Linked DNA regions of Homo sapiens: region 2 is linked to region 1. Evidence: promoter capture Hi-C in 16 types of primary human blood cells and fetal thymus (Javierre and others, 2016). All regions are on one chromosome and are shown on one strand. The core of a region is centred on a gene start or on the middle of the fragment in contact, and the rest is flanking DNA. Distances in the headings are between cores, read along the strand shown.

Region 1 (3,451 bases), core at 360-2,859:
AACCCTCCCAGTTGCTTAATTATACCCATAGGTAATACAAAAAGCTCTGAAGACCCAAAGATGACATTACTAATGATGTGATTTCAGGAGCCACAGAAGAACCTTACCAGCTTCCCTCAAATCAGTCCTTATCCTCTTTCTATCTTCACTCCCATCATCATCTATTTTCACACTATCCAGCTAAGCAAAGATTCCTGGAGGCTGACTTGTATCTTCAGACTCACAGAGTGAATTCAGCTCTTCTGAATCAAGACCCACCCAGTCTCTTTCATTCAGACCTGTTGCTAACAAATTTATATTTGCCAAGGATATTAGGCAAAAGAGGCTACTTGATTGGTGGCCAACCTCGTGCCCACATGGAAGGTATCTTTAATAGGGTCTTTTCAAACCTTAGTGGAGGAGGGTCAGCTCAATTTGGGCAATGCATTTGTTCCCAGTTTCATTTTCTTCCTGGGAATTAACTCGTCATTTCATTCCTTCAGTCATCTTCTGTGTAGGTGACCGGAGCACTGAGAGGCAGCTCTGATGCACTATTGTGTGTCAGCAGCTCAAAGGCCCTAAAACACTGAAGGTTCTGCATCTGAAGTATTAGATTGTTAGCAGCAAAATATGAAAGATGAGGTGGACAGTCCTCTAAGCCCTATTTAGGGAAGCTTTTCCAAGCCACAATCTTAACTACCTACCCAAAGGATTTGCATTACCCCCAGATTCTGTGCCAACAACCTTTTAAGGAAATACAGTCCTTGGGAAATGAGTTTTGATGGTGAATTGGGGTGTTAAGGAAGGGAAAGATTGTCATAGATGGTAGGGCTTTGAAAATGCAGGGTATCAGCTGCCACTCCTGGCTTCAACACATTGAGTCACTGCCTAGACGGTTCTCTTGGTCTTATTCCCATCCTGGCCAATGCTTAAATACTATTTGTTGAAAATAATTCTTTGAGACAGATTTCAGCTACCTCCCTTCCAGGTTCGATTTAACTTGGTTGTAATTGTCAATTTGTTGTTATAGGTCTTACCTGTGTGAAAGAAAGAAAAAGAAAGAAAGAAAGAAAGAGAAAGGAAATTATAAGGTCAAGTTAACAGTTTTGAGGTTTTGTGTTTTTTTCTGGAACTACTTCAAGTGAGAAAATAAAAAAAAATGGTGACAAAGCTGTACAGATAGAGATAATAGAAGACAAAGAGATTAAAAGGAAATAAAAATGCATGATTAAAAACTAAGAATAAAAAACCTATTTTTATGTTTCCTAAAGGAAATTGTTTATTCTACAGCCTCAGTAGGTAGACACAAACATAAAGATTTCCCTAGAAGACATAGAGTGGGATTTGATAACACTGTCTGTTATTTTCTGTACATTGTGGTAGGTCCAGGAAATATGACATTTTCCCCCTTGATGTGTTATTGTTGTTGTTGGGTGGGGTGGGCATTTTGTTTATTTGTTTGGTGGCAATCAGTGGTAGTAGGGAGTGGGAGGGCTTATATTGGTTTTTCCAGCTATTAAGGGGACATATTGTGTCGTTGTGCTTTTCACGTTATAAAATGTTTATATTTACCAGTACAGCACTGGGCTTTATAAAGACTGCACTCAGAACCACACTGCACAGTCCAGTTTTTTAAAAAGCTGCTACATGACAGACAGGTAATCCCACTGAGTGAGTTTTGAGAAACAAATCAAACGAAGTAAACAAGAAACATAAAAACCAAATAGCAAATGAATAAAAGCCTGTTCTTGTAACTTATTCAACTTTTGCCAAATTCCTACCAATCACTTGCTTTTTAAAAGAAATGTATAATAGCCAAAAGAGAAATTATGTCCCTGTTGTACAGAAGTTAGAATTTTTGACTCCAGGCAGCAGTTTGCTCAGTGATCTTGAACAAGTTATCCAATTGCCTCTACATTTGCATCAGTTTCTCTAGCTGCAAAATGGGGATAATACTATATACCTACCTCACAGTGGGAGGGCAGGAGATTTTGAGGCCCTGAGGTTTTAGGTGGGCTGTGAGGGCCAACGCTTGACACAAAGTCCATGGGTTATTATTCAAGAATGCACAGGCCCATCGGCCTTTTAGAAAGACAAGACAGGGAGTGCTTGTTTGATATTTCAAGGAATAAAGCCGGAGCTCCTGAATTGTAGTCCACCTTAAAAGAGAGACCTGTATTGGAGAATATTTTATTTTTTTGGCAAATTTGATCTTACCCTTTACCAGTTCTATAATTTGGTTAAAAGCTGATTATGTCCTACAATGTCAAAGTCAGCTAACTGTCGTCTACTTAAGACTTCTGGTCATTTCCAACTTATAGAGGAAGGGAGTCTCTAAAATCTCTTCTTCAGAAGGCACCTCACTTCTCAGACTTAAAATTCCACATCAAGTGTTCCATTAAAAGAAGATAAGGCATTCTGAGTGCAAACAAATGGGGGCTTCTTAAACTACACACCAGCAGTCAGTGAGGAAAACTTTGAACAATTATTGAGTTGCTTTCTTGGGTCTCTATAATCAATAACCTGTCTGCAGATATCTATCTATATAAAGATATTATATATAAATATAAATTTACATATATATGCACATGTATATATAGTTGTACATATATGTGTGTATATATATACTTAAATGTAATATTTACAAAATAAAACTGTGATCTCGTCTAGAGAAAATGTATTCATATTACAAACTGCTCTTCCATATTTATGTACCATATTATACCTTTTTATTATTGTTATAATTATTATGGGTATTTCTAATTAATATGATGTTGAAACCTGTTTGGCACCTTCTGGAAGCTACCAAAAAAATGACACTCCATTGAAGTGCTTAAAAGCTGTTCTCATAAGAATTCTTCTGGCCTATTGTAAAAAAGAAAAAAAAAAAGAAAAAGAAGAAAGACACAAAGAAAATAATCTAAACACCAAAAACTAAACACAATTCCAATCCTTTTTCTGTACCTCACGCGCATAAATTTGCTGCTCCTATTTTTTTTTCTGTTTATGTGTTTTTATGGATCTAAGTTAAATCTTTTGGCAATATATAAAAATGTAAATAGTAAACTTTATTTATTAAGAATGTCATCTTTTTTAATTTATATTTACACAATTGTTCATCTAATTTATTTTTTCTATACAGTTTTAAATACTCAGACATATTTTGCTGTTCATGATATTTTTATCCTGTTCTCATGGATTTGTTTTCCCATACTGTTTTCTCTGATCTCAATTACAGGTTGGATCTCACAAATAATAATGTCAGAGACAGAAATATTTTGCCACTGTTGATTACTATACTTTAAAGTTCTATATTATGAAAATATATAATAGCTTGTACGCTTCAGTGTGTTGTTGTGTGGTTTTTGTGTGTTGCGGAATGATAAAGGGCTGTCATATATACACGCTAACATGGAGAGAGCCCTGGGGCCTGGAATTAGACAATCAATGATAGAACAAGATTTTATCCAAT
Region 2 (3,451 bases), core at 596-3,095, 240 kb before region 1:
GTCAGGGGTAAAATAGCGACTTTCAAACTTTTCAAACTTCTGGGACAAGGGTGAAGGGCAGGACTCTGCCTCTCTCCTTCCCTTCACCTTATTCCACTTAAATTGTGTGATTCTACAAGCTTATGTTTAAAGGAATATGTTCCTCCATTACAAAGAGTTTAAATGGATATGGACTGACATTGAGGAGTTATTGTTAATCTTGATAGGTGTGATATGATATTGTTGTTATGTTTTTTTAAAGATCCTAATTTGTTAGAAATGCATACTGAAGTACTTGTGGGTAAAATTATGTTTTGTCTATTTTGTTTGTTTATTTGTTTAAAAAGCTCCAGAAAAAAAAAAAAAAAGGTTCTGGGGGTAGTGGTTGGTGAGAGATTAGCAAACTGATAACAATTGTTGAAACCAAGTGATTAAACCTTGGAGCTTTAATACATTTTTGTTCATGCTGTGGTGTGTGATTGAAGATTTCCATAATAAAAAGTTAAAAATACTAAAAGTGTTTGAGAGCCACAGGAGGAAGTGAAGTCTCAGTTCCCTGCGTGTTCTGTGACCTGAAAGGTTTGCAAATACGGAGACCACCGTTTAGAGAGGGTTAGGGACTCCCCCAAGGTCGCACAAAGATTAGCTGAAAGTCGTGACACAGCCCAGGCTTCAGATCTGAGGAGCTCCCCATCCCCTCCTCTCTGTACACTTGCAAACTCAAGTGAAAATGATTATCCAGGGAGAACTCGAGGGGAATAAAAGTGATGAGGGGAGCCTTAGGAGGAGCATGGAGAAGGGGCAAGTGGAGGCTTGCTCTGCAATAAGAAGCTTTTGAGTGAGAAAATTATTTGCTGTATGGGACTGCCCTACATATTGTGAAATGTTTAGCATCTTTGGCCCTGTTTATGAGAATTTCATGGGATCTGTTAGTGATTGTGACAGGCCCAGAAGTATTGTGACGATACACACACACATACTCATATACTCACAGGTCCACATACCCTTAGTTCTCGTTTTTCTGGTTCCTTATTTCTCTCCATCCCTAACTACCTGGAGAGCAATTCTAGAGCCTTCTAGAGGCCTGGGGCAGTGACCTGCAGGAGCATATGTTTACTGAGGAAGTATTTTGCAATGGTTGATCACAGGACTCAGGAATCAAACTGCCTGGTCAAACCCTGACTATTGCACCTGCTGGTTGTGTGACCTTGGGCAAGTTACTTAGTATCTCCAAGCTTCACTTTTCCCCTCTGTAAAGTGCAGATAATACTAGCTGTTACTTCATAGGGTTGTTTTGAAGATTAACTGGGCCTCCATGTGGAAAATGCTTAGTAATGGAATCTAGACCATGCGGTAACCCAGCAAACGTTAACTCATATCAGTATTATGTGTGCCAGCCATTGCCACGCATTATTTCTAATAATCTCAATAACTCTAGGAGTTAGACATACTTATCTCTTTTGGCAAAGCCAGGAATTGCCTTTTCCTCCCTTACAACTCAGGAAAGAGTTATTGCTGTCATCTTAACATAGAAAAATTAAAAATTTAAACAACTAAAATGAAAGGCTAACAAGATAAACACATTATTGTGTCATTTAAAAAAAAATAGTGCATGCTCATTGTAAAAAAAATCTCAGAAATGCAGACAAAGAACAAGAGACCAGGTAAAATTTGTCTATTTCCTGCCCAAGCATGCAACAACTATTTTTTGAGTTTCTGCTCTGTGCTGGGTACAGTTTTAGGCCTTGAGGACAGACCAGTCAACAAAAGAGAGAAACATCTCCGCCCTCAGGGAGTTTATATTCTGGGCAGTGGGTGTTGGGGAGAAGGTGGAGACAGACTATAAATGAATAAGCATATATATCCCATAATGTCAGGTGAATGTTTGTAAAGAAAAAGTTGAGAAGGAAGTCTAGGAATGCTGTGTGGGAGTGGGGATGCAGGAGGAGAGAGGAGTGGGATATGAAAAGAGTGGTCAAGGGAGGCCATCATCAGAGTAGCTTTGAAGAAGAGACCTATGAGCAGGCCTGAGGCTCTCTGGAGAAGGCCATGGTGTATCGCAAAAGGAGGAGCAATGCTTTGAGCTAGGAGATGTCAGTTCTAGCACTAGTTTGCTGTGTGACTTTAGGCAAGTCACTCTCCCTCTCAGAACCAGTTTTCACATCTGAACTTTGTGGTACTGTAGGGATTATTTGCACTAAAGACACTTCTACAGACACTTCCTAGGATTCTATAATCCTCATCAAGGCTGTCCTCAGACAAAACTGTGAAGTTGGCAATAGTTCCAGTTTTCTTCCTTTTCTGGTGTATTTTCCTCCACTAGGTGGTGCCTGTGCCTGTCACCCTCAGGGGCCAAGTGTGGACACATTTTCGGCTTCCACACCTCAGCAACACTGGGGAAAAAAGAAGATGGTACACCTTCTTGCTAAGTACCATTGACTGGTAACAACTTGGAATGTTACTGCTCCATTGGTGGATACTCTTTTAGGACTTCCCAGAAAGCTTTGTGTCACAAAGCAATGTAACAGTGGTAGAATTTCTAAGACTGACTGAAGACATTATTTGGGGAATATTGGTACTTCCTGATAGCTGGAATCCATCCTATTAATAATATAACTAATTCTAGCCCCCACAAATATCCAGAAAACTTGCTGAGTGACTCCCAGTCATCACTTACTGGGTGAATGCTAGCATGTTCATATTTTGTAATTTCTTAGGATATAAAGGCCATTCCAGACAAATTCCTGGACTTTGGAATAGACCACCGGCCTTGTAGTATTGCTTATCATTTTAATCAGATAACTCAGTGAATTAAAATACCAAAACTCTGGAGTCTGTCATCATTTTCCAGACTATTTTCCTTCAGAGGATCCCTGGAACTGTCATCTCTGAAGTATATCCAGCTTCCTCTCAACTCCCTCCTTCTTCTCTCTCTTCCTACTCCTCATACCCAGCTTATTTGCTTTGACCACTTGGATTTTTCTCCAAACAAGATAAAGAAAATGTGTTTGTTTTTTGGTATTATTTGCCACAAACCCAGGGTCCACAGAACTTGGAAGAATATAAGAGGTTCCCCTCTTCTACTTTAGATTGTAGAGAACCCTGGTCAGGTCTCAGATTCCAACCCACTTGGAGGAAGCTAAGACATAAAAGCTGGTCAGTAACAACTTGGAATATCGAAGTATGTGAGTAGGGGCAGCGTACCACTAGTTGCTGAGACCTGTTATAGCCTTGTGTGTTTAGGAAGCCAGTGGTCCAACCTGTACCTATTATCCTTGTAATCAAGAAGTCATTCCTATGCCTGTCCCGTATCCATTCCTGTTGCTCTATGAATCTGAAAGGTGGCTCGGCAGAATGTGGCCAAATGCATTTATATGGAGGGGGTTATTTTCCCCAGTGTGACTGCAGATCTTTCAGCTCAGAGGCTGATGAATGAAGAGAGAAGGCTGTGTTAATAGGCTAATCTTAAGAT

Evidence for each region. Contacts are between HindIII fragments. The CHiCAGO score rates a contact against its expected background, and 5 or more counts as called.
Region 2: a fragment that was not itself captured here is called in contact with the fragment with the promoter of PAPPA-AS1 in region 1 in 1 of 17 cell types (M2 macrophages); the score reaches 6.8 in M2 macrophages.

Annotation. Positions count from the first base shown.
Region 1 is chr9:116,398,997-116,402,447 of GRCh38, forward strand. It overlaps PAPPA-AS1 (PAPPA antisense RNA 1), which reads right to left and starts at 1,610. Exons shown (of 1, transcript NR_103711.1): 1 at 1-1,610. It overlaps PAPPA (pappalysin 1), which reads left to right. Exons shown (of 22, transcript NM_002581.5): 22 at 1-3,325. The HindIII fragment of the contact is 11,566 bases long and covers 652-3,451 here.
Region 2 is chr9:116,161,378-116,164,828 of GRCh38, forward strand. The region is part of intron 1 of PAPPA (pappalysin 1); the gene reads left to right. Among named protein-coding and RNA genes, the nearest start is that of PAPPA, 9.3 kb to the left of the region's middle. The HindIII fragment of the contact is 1,267 bases long and covers 1,213-2,479 here.